2 separate regions of the Homo sapiens genome follow, and region 1 is linked to region 2. The links are contacts of gene promoters, found by promoter capture Hi-C in blood cells and fetal thymus (Javierre and others, 2016). All regions are on one chromosome and are shown on one strand. The core of a region is centred on a gene start or on the middle of the fragment in contact, and the rest is flanking DNA. Distances in the headings are between cores, read along the strand shown.

Evidence for each region. The method cuts DNA at HindIII sites, captures the fragments that hold promoters and counts their contacts. A CHiCAGO score of 5 or more calls a contact.
Region 1: a contact is called between a fragment that was not itself captured here and the fragment with the promoter of CTDSP2-AS1 in region 2, in 5 of 17 cell types (M0 macrophages, M2 macrophages, activated CD4 T cells and 2 more). The highest score is 6.6, in M0 macrophages.

The regions. Positions count from the first base shown.
Region 1 is chr12:57,874,824-57,881,849 of GRCh38, forward strand. All of the region lies in intron 1 of LOC283387 (a long non-coding RNA gene), which reads right to left. The region is part of intron 1 of LOC124902948 (a long non-coding RNA gene); the gene reads left to right. Among named protein-coding and RNA genes, the nearest start is that of CTDSP2, 32 kb to the left of the region's middle. RefSeq lists a silencer at 1-197. The HindIII fragment of the contact is 1,789 bases long and covers 2,393-4,181 here.
Region 2 is chr12:57,835,778-57,842,160 of GRCh38, forward strand. It overlaps CTDSP2-AS1 (CTDSP2 antisense RNA 1), which reads left to right and starts at 1,314. Exons shown (of 2, transcript NR_188077.1): 1 at 1,314-1,437. The region is part of intron 1 of CTDSP2 (CTD small phosphatase 2); the gene reads right to left. RefSeq lists enhancers at 1,544-1,613, 2,203-2,823, 2,404-2,513, 2,574-2,653. The HindIII fragment of the contact is 9,495 bases long and covers 1-3,077 here.

The DNA.
Region 1 (7,026 bases), core at 2,037-4,536, 41 kb after region 2:
AGGAGGTAACATTTGAGCAGAGATCATTTAGTGGTATCTGTCATTTGTGGTTATGCAAGTGCAAAGGTCGTAGAGGCATGGAGGACTTATCAATGTGTTTGGGGAAGAGGAGGAAGACCAGTGTGGCTGGAGCAATGTAGGCACAAGGGAGTGATGGGAGATAAAGTCAGAAAAATAGTAGGGGCTCATTCAAGTAGGGCAAGGTGAGCATGCATTGAACAAGATCCCCAGGTGACACTTATGTAAGCTTCTGCACACATTTGAAAACCATTAGGTAGATGAAGAAGAAATGAGAAGAGAAACCCCATTTAAAAGTTCTTCTTCTTCTTTTTTTTTTTGGAGACAGAGCCTCACTCTGTTGCCCAGGCTGGAGTGCAGTGGCACAATCTCGGCTCACTGCAACCTCCGCCTCCCGAGTTCAAGTGATTCTCCTGCCTCAGCCTCCCAAGTAGCTGGGATTACAGGCATGCGCCACCACGCCTGGGTAATTTTTGTATTTTTAGTAGAGACAGGGTTTCACCATGTTGGCCAGGCTGATCTCGAACTCCTGACCTCAGGTGATCGAACTCCTGCCTCGGCTTCCCAAAGTGCTGGGATTACAGTCATGAGCCACCACGCCTGGCCTAAAAGTTATTCTTTAAAAGCATTTTGGAGGCCTGGTGTGGTGGCTCATGCCTGTAATCCTAGCACTTTGGGAAGCCAAGGTGGGTGGATCACCTGAGGTCAGGAGTTTGAGACCAGCCTGGCCAACATGTTGAAACCCTGTCTCTACTAAAAATACAAAAAAATTAGCCAGGCGTGGTGGTGAGTGCCTGTAATCCCAGCTACTCGGGAGGCTGAGGCAGGAGAATCGCTTGAACCCAGGAGGCAGAGGTTGCGTGAGGGAGATTGCACCACTGCACTCCAGCCTGGGCAGCAAGAGCGAGACTCTGTCTCAAAAAAAACAAAGAACAAAAAACAAAAAACAAAAACAAAAAGTATCTTGGAAAGAGTAAGACACACAAAAGTATAACATTCTATCACAACCTCCTATGTACCCATCACCCAGCCTCAACACTAGCAACTTTATTTTACAAAGGAAACTGAAAGTAGTAGCCAGGAATGTAGGAGGAAGACCAGGGTAGGATTGTGTCAGTGAAGCATGTCAAAGAGAGAGATCAACAGTGACAAATAAAGGGAAAATGTTCTGTAGGTTGAGCAGAGGTCAAATCCCTGCCAACATCATGGCCCTGTGTTGTCCCATGGGCTTCTCACAGTACAGGTGGCTGTTAAGGTGCCAGCTGCCCCTCAACCTGCTTCTCCTCTTATTTTCTCTGTCGAAGAGTCTTCAATGGTTTCTGTTTGGGATGAAAGCAGGGACTGAGACTTGGACTTGTGCTCAGGGAGTTTATTTTGGAGACGATCCTGGGAAGCAGGGTGCGAGAGCAAAAAGAGTGAGGCAGGGAAGAAGGAAAAGTCACAAAGAGTATGTTATTGAGCTGGTTACCACTGTGAGCAAATGAAGCTCGATCTGGCTGGGCCCATAAGGAACTGAGTAGAGTGCATCTCAGATTGGCCCCCAGCAGCATAGGAGGCCAGGGCACTTATTCAATGGTCTCTCACACCCCATTTCTTGAGCGCTGTGCTGGGGATATTAACCTCCCTGCATTTTTCTGGGCTGCCCAAGGCAGAAAGCCAGCCAAGGCAGAAAGACAGCCATGTGGACTGTCTGCCACAGCTGCACCCGAATCTGAGCAGGGAGAGAGGGTATAGAGTACAGGACACCTAAAGTTGTCTGCTGCAGCTCCATCACGGCTTGATAGGATCTAACCTCCTTCTCATGACACCAGTGTCATTAACCTATTAACCAGGCCAGCAACATGGGAGTTATTCTAAATGTTTCCCTTATCACCCTGTCTCCCTCGTTTGTCTCTGCAGCCACGCTTTTAGTTCAGGTGGTCATTTCTTGAGGACCATGGTAATGATCTCCTTATCTTTTATTAAATGCCAATGACACTAAAAAATGATATATATATAAGAAATTGGAGGCTGGGTGCAGTAGCTCACGCCTGTAATCCCAACACTTTGGGAGGCCGAGGCAGGTGGATCACCTGAGGTCAGGAGTTCGAGACCAGGCTGGCCAACATGGCAAACCCTGTCTGTACTAAAAATACAAAAAAAAAAAAAAATTAGCTGGGCATGGTGACACGTGCCTGTAATCCCAGCTACTTGGGAGGCTGAGGCAGGAGAATTGCTTGAACCTGGGAGGCAGAGGTTGCAGTGAGCTGAGATCATGTCATTGCACTCCAGCCTGGGCGACAGAGTGAAACTCTGTCAAAAAAAAAAAAAAAAAATTAGAGGTGATGTGGAGTCTGTGGAGGGGTACATGACTCAGTACTAGGGACTCAGAGAAAGCTTCCAGGAAGAAGTGACTTTTAAACTAAAATCTGAGGACTGAGTAGGAATTAGCCAAAGAAGTATGATGAAAATTCAGTTACAGGGAAGACCATGTGTGAAAGCTCAAAAAGGGCATGGCAAATTTAAGACACTAAAAAGGGTTAGTTTATCTGAAGTGTGATGGAGGAAGAAAAGAGAGATTGGCCAGATCATACAGGACCCTGCCAACCGTATGAACAAATATTGACTTTATTCAAAAGGCAATGGGAAGCCTGAAGATTTAAGACAGGAGGGTGATGGGATTGAATCTGAGTTTTAGTAAGATCACTTTGACTAAAGTATGGGAAAAAATTAGTAGATCACACTCATTTTTGGCTATTTGGCTACAAACCCCTTGTTGGGTGCCTCGCCAGTGTCTGTTCCCTGCCTGCTGCCATAGTCATGGTTTTCCTTTAGAGGATTTCACATCTTCAACCATGTGATTTGGGTGTGATGAGCTCTTCTTCCCAACCATTGCTAAGTTAATTAGTGCACTGACCACAGTGGCTGGTTCAGGGATGGGCACTTGATCCATTTTAAGTGAGTGAGAGAATGTGAGTCTCAGGACTTTTATAGCAGCTACTAGTATGAAGATGTAAGGTGTGAATTGCTATAGCCATGCCATGACTGTTATGGGAAAATCTGGAGCTGTTGGAAGACCACTATATGAAACATGATGATGCCATGAAAGGCAGAGAGAGAAGGGGGGGAACTGACTTCATGGTAACGTTGTATGAACTTTTGGATCAAGCCTTATTTACTTTTTACTTTTTTTTTTTGAGATAGGGTCTTACTCTGTTGCCCAGTCTGGACTGCAGTGGTGTGATTACAGTCACTGCAGCCTTGACCTCAAAGGCTCAAGTGATCCTCCCTCCTCAGCCTCCTGAGTAGCTGGGGCCACAGATGCATGTCACTGTGCCCAGCTAATTAAAATTTTTTTTGTAGAGACGGGGTCTCGCTATGTTGCTCAGGCTGGTCTCAAACTCCTGGGCTCAAGCAATCTGTCTACCTTGGCCTCCCAAATTGCTGGGATTATTGGCATGACCACCACGCCTGGCCTCAAGCCTTATTTAAAGCCACCTCTTCCTCTGGACTTCACAGTAAATTGAGCCAATAAATTCTCCATATTGTTTAAACCAGTTGAATTGGAGATTGGTTTACTGCAACCTAAAGATTCCTAACTGATACAGAAATGAGTTCCATAAGGTGTTTCAAGAGACAGGCCCTAAAAATGGGATTGTCCAACCAAAGAAGTAAGATGAAGGATAAAGAACCCCTACATTTTCGGCTGAGAAATTGGCCATCTAATTAGCTATACAGTTTCCTGTTGTGACTTGGGGTGCAGATTACACAATCTGCGGCTGTAGCGGTACACTACTTAGTAGAAAAATGTAGAGTGTTGGATTGGGTTGGCTCCTTCTTGTTAATATTAATAAAGTACTGTAAAAAGGTAAGTTGCTGGCCTGGTGCAGTGGCTCACGCCTGTAATCCCAGCACTTTGGGAGACCAAGGTGGGCGGATCACGAGGTCAGGAGTTCGAGGCCAGCCTGATCAGCATGGTGAAACCCCGTCTCTACGAAAAATACAAAAATTAGCCCAGCATGGTGGTGCACACCTGTAATCCCAGCTACTCGGGAGGCTGAGGCAGGAGAATCTCTTGAACCCAGGAGGTGGAGGTTGCAGTGAGCTGAGATCATGCCACTGCCCTCCAGCCTGGGTGACAGAGCGAGACTCCGTCTCAAAAAAAAAAAAAAAAAAAAAGGGTAAGCTTATGTTCAAACTAGCTTACCCCAAAACAGAGAAGGAAGAAAATACAGCTTTGATAAGAGAAGCCCTTTCTGCCTACGGTAAAAAAAAAAAAAAAAAAAAAAAAAAATGGCTGAGAGGACTAGAAAGCCCTGAAAACTTTGTCCCAAGGTATGTTAGTATTAGGTTAGTGCAAAAGTAATTGCGTTTTTTGCCATCGAAAAGAATTGCAAAACTGCAATTACTTTTGCACTAACCTAATGTGAACAGAAACAGGGATGGGGGATTGCATTGTATGGGATATGGGATATGAGATATGGGATATGGGATACAAGATATGGGATATGGGATATGGAACATGGGACATGGGACATGGGATATGGATATGGTCTATGGGATATGAATATGGGCTATGGGACATGGATATGAGGTATGGGATATGGATATAGGCTATGGGATATGGATGTGGGATATGGATATGGGATGTGGGATATGGATATGGGATATGGGATGTGGATGTGGGATATGGATATGGGATATGGGCTATGCCATATGGGATATGGATGTGGGATATGGGATATGGATGTGGAATATGGATATGGGCTATGGGCTATGGATGTGGGATATGGATATGGGCTATGGGCTACGGATGTGGGATATGGGATATGGAATATGGGATATGGATGTGGGATATGGGATATGGGATATTGATGTGGGATATGGATGTGGGATATGGATATGGGCTATGGGCTATGGATGTGGGATATGGATATGGGATATGGATATGGGCTATGGATGTGGGATATGGGATATGGAATATGGGACATGGGATATGGGCTGTGGGATATGAGATATGGGGTATGGATGTGGGATATGGGATATGAGATATGGGCTATGGATGTGGGATATGGGCTATGGACTATGGGATATGGATGTGGGCTATAGGATATGGAATATGGGATATAGGATATGGGATATGGTTGATGGCTTATCCCTAGCCCTTTCCCAAGCACCTCCTGCTTTTTATTCCTCCTAAAACAAAGGTGACCATAACTTCCATGACAGATGTAAGTGGGACACAGCCTATTGGCAACGACCAGATTTAGAGTGCCTCCCAGGCAGTTTCTTCAAGTTGTTCAAAGGTACAGTTTGAGACTAAACGTAAGGCTGGGTATTTGGGAAGAGAACTAAGACCTATTTGCTTAGTGAAAGAAATACCCAGGCCAGACTCCAGACTCAAAGACTAGTCTCACAAAGAGCTCTGGTTTTGGCCGGGCGCGGTGGCTCACGCCTGTAATCTCAGCACTTTAGGAGGCGGAGGCGGGCGGATCGCCTGAGGTCGGGAGTTCTAGACCAGACTGACCACCATGGAGAAACCCCATCTCTACTAAAAATACAAAAATTAGCTGGGCTTGGTGGCGCCTACCTGTAATCCCAGCTACTCGAGAGGCTGAGGCAGGAAAATTCCTTGAACCTGGGAGGTGGAGGTTGCAGGGAGCCGAGATCATGCCATTGCACTCCAGCCTGGGCAACAAGAATGAAACTCTGTCTCAAGGGGAGCTCTGGTTTCATATACTAGCTCATAGAATCAACCAGAAGCAAATAAACTTGAAGCCCACAAAGAAACTTCAAGCTCAGATGACAATGGCTAGAGACTTCAACTCCTAACATAATTCTCAGGTCCCAAAGCACAACGAATTTGTCTTCACAGAACCACTGCTTTAATGTCTTCTGTGAACATTAAAACAGTGGTTCTCACACTTTTGTGTACAGAAGACGTTTATTAAAAATACAGATTATTGGGCTTCATCCCCAAAGAATCTGATTCCTTCCATCTGGGATTGGGCTTGGGGATCTGCATTATTAACAAATATCCTTGATGATCCACATGTGGGTGGCCAGGGAGCCCCGCTTTGGGAAACACTGCATTGAAGGAAATTATTACTTTTTTTTTTTGAGACGGAATCTCGCTCTGTTGCCCAGGCTGGAGTGCAGTGGTATGATCTCGGCTCACTGCAACCTCTGCCTCCTGGGTTCAAGCAATTCTCCTGCCTCAGCCTCCCCAGTAGCTGGGATTACAGGCCCATGCCACCACACCCGGCTAATATATATATATGTTTTTAGTTTTTGTATTTTTAGTAGAGACGGGGTTTCACCACATTGGTCAGGCTGGTCTCGAACTCCTGACCTCGTGATCCGCCGGCCTCGGCTTCCCAAAGTGCTGGGATTACAGGCATGAGTCACGGCGCCTGGCCTAGTATTAAATTCTTTAGGGATGATCAGCAGGACTCATTTTGTCCTGATAGTATCTGTGCACTGTGTAGGGCCCAGACTGAGAGCTCAGCACAGCCTTGTCTATTAGACCTGAAAAGCATGGGTTTCTGGAACCAAGGTGGTTTTGGGAAGTAAGCAGACTATGATTCCAGGAACTGATTTGCCCTGAGTCCCTGCTCCCTTACTTCTTGATCATGTTTAATTCTGCCTTGGCTCTATTAGGATTGCTTTGTCCAGACACTGACCTGGCAGTGAGTGTGCCTGGGATCCTCTGTCAGTGTCCCTTGTATAGTCAGAGAGTTCTGGACACATCTGTGGGAGGTAGAGAATGTGACAAACCCTGGGGAGAGTGTTTACTAAGCTTTTCCATGTTTATTTTCTTTCCTCCATCTCACCTTAGGACAGGGAGTATTCTGAAAGCCTTAGTGAAGCAGTGACACTTTTCTGGCACCTTGAATGACTCATATGTCTCAGTGCCACACACCCTCCATTGAAGGCCTTGGGATTGTCAAGGTCAGGATATTTAAAGTCACATTCTTGGGAGTGATCTGGACATTGCCAGGTCAGCTCAGGATGAGGGAGGTGCCCAGA
Region 2 (6,383 bases), core at 64-2,563:
GAGGCGGGGTGTGAGGAGAAGAGGGGATGTGAGGAGTATGCCCCCACTGAGGATCATCAGGGCTGGGGTCCAGGCTCTGCCAGTTACTGACTCAGCCACACAGCCTTTTGGAGCCTTAGTTTCCTCATCCATAAACTGGGATAACAGCAAGCCCTCACTCAGGACTGAAAGGATAAACGAAGTTAGAGAGTAAGGCACTGTGCTAACTCTAAAGCTAAATGCTGCGCTTGTTTTAATTAATTATCCAAGGGGAGATGACCACTAAATGGCAACATCATGGGCCTCATTCCAGGAGGCCAGCAACAGACCAGGAGCCCTCCCACCATCATCACGTGGATGAAGCCCAAGAAGATGAGGGAAAGGTGCCTGAGAGCTCTGATCATGAGCAGGTTTCAGAAAGTCAAAATAGCCCCTATACCTTCTCCCAAGTCCACAACAAAATTTGTTTTCCAGCTCACAAACTCCCTGACTGGGTATTCTGTGAAAAACAAAAGCAAGTAAGACTGTTTCACTTGAGACAAAAATCGCTGTCTCCCCTGGTATTCATCCCCACTACTCTCAAGAAGTACCAGGTAAGGACACTATTTGCCCCTATGCATGGGCCGGGGTAGGTGGCTCAAGCCTGTAATCCCAGCACTTTGGGAAGCTGGGCCGGTTGGATCACTGCAGCTCAGGAGTTCAAGACCAGCCTGAGCAACATGGCAAAATCCTGTTCTACCAAAAAAAAATTAGCCAGGTGCACCTGCAGTCCCAGCTTGGCAGGCTGAAGTGGGAGAATCACCGGAGCCCAGGAGTTTGAGGCTGCGGTAAGCCGTGATTGCACCACTGCACTCCAGCCTGGGTGACAGAGTGAGATTTTGTCTTTAAAAAAAAAAAGTGTACATGTACAAACACGTGAACACGTGCACACATACACACAAACGAAGACCAGAGTGACCAGGGCAACACTGTTTTTAATCTTCTCCTGAAAGTCAGGTCCAGATACCACTTTTGTCAACAACACAGCTTTGTGTCCCAGCAAAGGAACTCCTCACACATCTGCCTGCGATTCAGCAGAAGGTAACCTCTGAGACAATCAGATTTTAACAAGCCCATTCAGGTAGAAAGTTGCTTTCTTTTTTGGTTCATCCCCAGAAGTACTTCCTTCCCCACCACCTCCCATCCCCCACAGCAAAGGACTTAGCCTTAGCCTGGCTATCACTATAAAATGGCCCCTCTGAGGGGCCTCCTTCCTCTCAGCTATTGGAGGAAGGAGAGTATTTGGAGCATTTCCGGCCCTTCTTGGACGGCTGCCTGAACCCTGCAGCCAAGACACATTTGACTGGGACTCCCCCATGGAGAGAAGTCCTCCCAGGTCCTCTGCAAGGGGCATCTGTTCCTTGGCTATGGACATGCCCTAAAGTGCCAGGTGGACGGAAGAGCTCCTGGGACCAGCAGGTGAGTCGGCAGGGAACAAAAGAGGGTGAGATGCCTAGACAGCCCCCACACACAAAAGACTGCAAACAATGGGGAGGGTGTACTGCTTTCATGCCTGGCCACTGACACTGTTCTCTACAGCTAACAAGCAAGGCAGGGCCGGACCCAGCTTAGCACCGGCTCCCGAAGTTCCAAAAAGTAGCTGTGTATCTAACTGCATGGGCATTTTTTGAAAAAAGCAGTTTTAACACTTTGGGGGGCAAAGGCAGTGGGGATCACTTAAGGTCAGAAGTTCGAGACCAGCATGACCAATATGGTGAAACCCCATCTTTACTAAAAATGCAAAAATTAGCAGGGTATGGTAGTGAGCTCCTGTAATCCCAGCTACTCCGGAGGCTGAGGCACGAGAATCACTTGAATCCAAGAGGTGGAGGTTGCAGTGAGCCGAGATCACACCATTGCACTCCAGCCTGGGGGACAGAGCAAAACTCTGTCTCAAAATAAATAAATAAATAAATAAAATTTAAAAAATTAAAAAGCAGTTTTAGCCATGCTGTTTGGCCCATACCAGCATGTTGTATGCTGGTGCCCTCTCTGCACCAGCAACTGGGGCAGCTCTACCTAAGCCAGTGTCTCCATTAGTTCCCTTTCCCTGGGCAGGAGAGCTCCCTATATGGCTGTCTCTTCTTTCAGACCTGAGTCCTTAATGCCACCTGTGGGGCGAGGGTCACAGGTCACACACTTTCTTGTCTCTGCCCCTTCAGCAATCTGTTCTCTGACCTCAGCTAGAGAGGTAAGAGGACTCAGTTTTGGGAGCAGGGGATTTCTGGCAGTTCTAAAGCACGCTGATTTCAGAATCAGCCTCTAAAGGAGGTATTGCCAAAACACCCTCCTGGGCAGCTCCAACGTACTTTAAAAACGTGCTGGGTTGGGGTGGGCCTCCATAAGTAGCAGATCCTGGACCAGAGACAGAGGAGGCGTTTCCTCATAGACAAGTCAGCTGCAGGCTCAGCCCTGCAAGCCCCACTCCAGAGGACTCTTGAGGGATGTCAGGAAGTGATCTAATAGCCCACAGGGCAGCAGGGACAAGCCTGAGATGCCATCCAAGAAAACTCAAAGGACTGGATCCTGCCCCTGCCTCAGCAGGAGACCCTGCCCTATGTAGCACCAGCCAGAGCAAAGGTATCATTGTGAGGGATTGGAAACCACACTTGCCTACCTGGAGTTACCCCTCCTTCCCCCTAAGGAGGTGTATAACAAGCCCCTGTGGGAGGGGCTACACACAGACAACCTCTCAGTGAGTGTTTCAAGTTCCTGCCTTAGTGCTGTGCCCTTGACTCCTGGAATGCTTAGATATAGTTGAAGCCTAGGAAGAATCCACTGCTTCTTTCCCTTCCAGGTATGTAGGCCTGCTTTAGGTTGATACAAACGTGAGCTGGAGAAAGCAGTGAGGACACAGGACAAAGCAAGGGTATCTGTTCTGACCAGGGAAAAATACAGTGGTGACACAAGGCACCCAGACTTGAGTTCGAATCTAGGCTCTGCCATGTGTAAGGTATGCAGCCATGGGCCTCAGTTTCTTCATCTGCAAAATGGGAAGACTACCTATTTCTCAGTGTCAGAATTGCAGGGAGCTCAGGGAGTGTCCTGGTCCTAACAAAAGCTTTGTAAGTGTCAACTGCTACTCATTAAGTGCAAAGTACTTTCATACTCTTACCTCAGTCTCCATCTCAAAATGTTCACATTAAAGGGACCATAGAGATTTCTTCTAACTCATTTCAGAGGTAGTAACAGGGCCAAACCGGAAATGATGTTTTCCGGGACTCCACAAAAACGAATCAGTCGCACACACACATACACACTCATTGAGGCTGGCCAACCAGTTCCTCCTTCATATGGCTGGCCTCTGCAGAAGGAATGGAAGGAGTCTGCCAGGGAGGCACCCATCTCCAGGGACATTCTGCTGCTCCCCCCACACCCCTCAGCTTCACCTATGACCAGCCAAGCCGTATAGGTGAGTCCACTTGAGAAAGTACTGATCTAGAAGTCAGGAAACCCAGCTCTTGCTCCAGTTCAGCTTTTCAACAGTTCCGTGGCCTTGCTAGGGCACAATTCTCTGGGGTTCAGTTTCCTCATAAGCCAATCTGGAAAGGTTTCCCCTGCATGGTCCCTTAAAAGGTGGCTTCACCTGAAGCATGCACCTGAATCATGAACTCAAAAGCACTCTAAAAGGTGAAATGTTAGGCCGGGCACGGTGGCTCAAGCCTGTAATCCCAGCACTTTGGGAGGCCAAGGCGGGCGGATCATGAGGTCAGGAGATCAAGACCATCCTGGCTAACACAGTGAAACCGCGTCTCTACTAAAAATACAAAAAATTAGCCGGGCGTGGTGGCGGGCGCCTGTAGTCCCAGCTACTCAGGAGGCTGAGCCAGGAGAATGGCATAGACCCAGGAGGTGGAGCTTGCAGTGAGCTGAGATCGAGATCGCGCCACTGCACTCCAGCCTGGGCGACAGAGCAAGACTCCATCTCAAAAAAAAAAGTGAAATGCCAGACAATGCAAATGTCTGGCTGACACTAGCCATGTACCCTTGGGCAAAGTCCTTCCCTCTCCCTGTGAAAGTTTTCCTTATCTGTAAAGTGAGGTTAATTCCTCTTATTGGAAAGGAAAAGTTGTCAGGAGAACTAAGTGAGATACGAGATATAAAATGCTAGGAATAGTACCTTGCCTATGGCAAGTACTCTATAAATATTGGCTGTAACCATTACTGGGTAAACAAGGATGGATCATTACTCTGTCCATTTACTCTGAAAACTTTAGGACTCCCCTTGAAGAGCCACAGATCTTTAACATACAGTAAAACGGGACCACCAAGAGGAATTTTCCTGCTCGGGGCAAAACAGGCAGTTGGGGCCACTGCTGTGCCTACCTGGCTCTTCTCCAGGGGCACCTGTCAGAGCCACAAGGAGCATTTGGAACACATGCATGCCTGACCCACCTGCCCATGCGCTGATTCAGCAGATCCCAGGTGGGGGGTCTGTATTTTTAGCAAGTGTCACAGGAGACTCTGATGTGTGTCCCTGGCTGAGAGCCAGTATCTACCGGTTGCCAGGGTCTCTGACTAACCCAGGGCTAGAAGGCAATTCAGCCAAAGTCCCCTTGGCCCCTCTCCCCACCGTACCTGACTGGCTCAGTGTTTCTGCAAGCCTTAGAGGACTCATGCCTAGGATCCAGTTTTCTTCTCTAGGGGTAGTTCTATGTGACGTGAGTCAGAAAACCTGGGTCTGCTGTCTCTACCTGCAGGCCCCTGTTCCTGTGAAAGAGGGGTCCTAGCTCTATTCTGCTGCGGGAACAGAAAAGCTGGGATCTACTATCCAGGAAGCCTTCCGCAGGCAATTTGAGCCTTTCCATGAGTCTGCTTGGCTCTCACTGGGATTGGGGCCATATTTGTTCCCTGGGAACAATGCAGATGGGAAAGTGCAAATTCAAGAGGATGGAAAAAGCTGTGGCAAGAAATAAAAGAAGGTATAGAATAAAAAGAGAGTAAGAGCAAAGTCTGATTTGGGGGGATGGGGGTGGGGGAAGGACTAGAGCACCTAGGAGGGAAATGGAAATGTCAGATCCACTCAGAGATCAGGTTCAAGGCTAACTCCTAGAATAGCTAACATAAAACAGGGCATACACACTTTTGCCTAGAGGGAGGCTGTGGCGCTCACTGGAGTACCCTGTGATAACAGATCCTGGTGCAGGCATACTCAGACCTGAAGGGCTGGGCATTTTGCCAGACAAAGAAACTCCATTCTATTTGGTCTCTGGTCCAGAGATGCTTCCAGTTTTAAGTCGTCAACTTATCCACTTTAATTTCTAGTACTTTCTTTGTAAGATTTGCGTGTTAATGTGCTCATCTGCATCCCAGTTCAGAACTACTACTCCATTTCAGAAAAGTGAGGGAAATATGTCAGGGCCACACCCAATCCCACGTCCCAAAGACAAGCGAGTTAATTCCATGCTTCCCAGAGCTGGCCAGACTAAGACAAGATGAAAAGCAGATCAATGCTGCTTTTGTACTTTCTCAATGTTGTACCCCAAAACCACAGGAGCAAACAAATAGCTTAAGAACATCTATTTCTCTTCAAACCCCATTTTCTTTTTCCCCCTCTTATTAAAATTACCTAAAAGAAACCTCAATCTCTCTGAATTCATTAACTCTCAAAGCAGACAGTGAGAGAATGTAGCATACAGTTGTCCTGAATATTCGTTATATCCATATTTGAGAACCTCTAAGGAAGTTTAGACTTTAGAGACTCACAGGGGGCACATGCCTGGCCTTCTCCCACCCCCAGATGCCCAGGCACCAGACAGAATGGCCAAAGTCCCACAGCCCAGGCAGATAACAAATCACATCCCAAGTCACATGACACAAAGAAGGGGTCTGTGCAGCAAGGCTGTTTGTAAGCCTAAGAGGTTGATCCTTCCAGAAGGCCCAAGCCCCCACAATCAGTGTCCCCTCTGACCCCCGGCCACCTGTCTTGAAAAATAAAACCCACAAGACTACGTGCTGTTTACACTGTGTCCTTGGGGGAATGGAGGAGGGCGAACAGAGTAGTCTAACTATGTAAAGAGGGAGGACATTAATATTTATCAAGCACCTACTAAGTACCAAGTATAATAGAAGGGTAGATATCATTATTACTACTTTATAGATAAGTTACTCAGAATACTAAAGTGATTTATCAAGTCTCATTGCAAATAGGAAAAGAAGGTATTTGAACCCAGGCCTGAAGCAATTTTGCTTCAGAAACAATGCTTTGAAGTAACAATGTAAACTTTAACCACCATCCCTGACCCTGGTCCCCACTCTGTCCAATCTAAGAACCAAACTTACCATGATGGGAATAAAAGACAATACCCCAAATTACCCAAAAGCTAGCAGAAAAAAAAAATTGTAGGAGGAATTGGAAGGGAAGC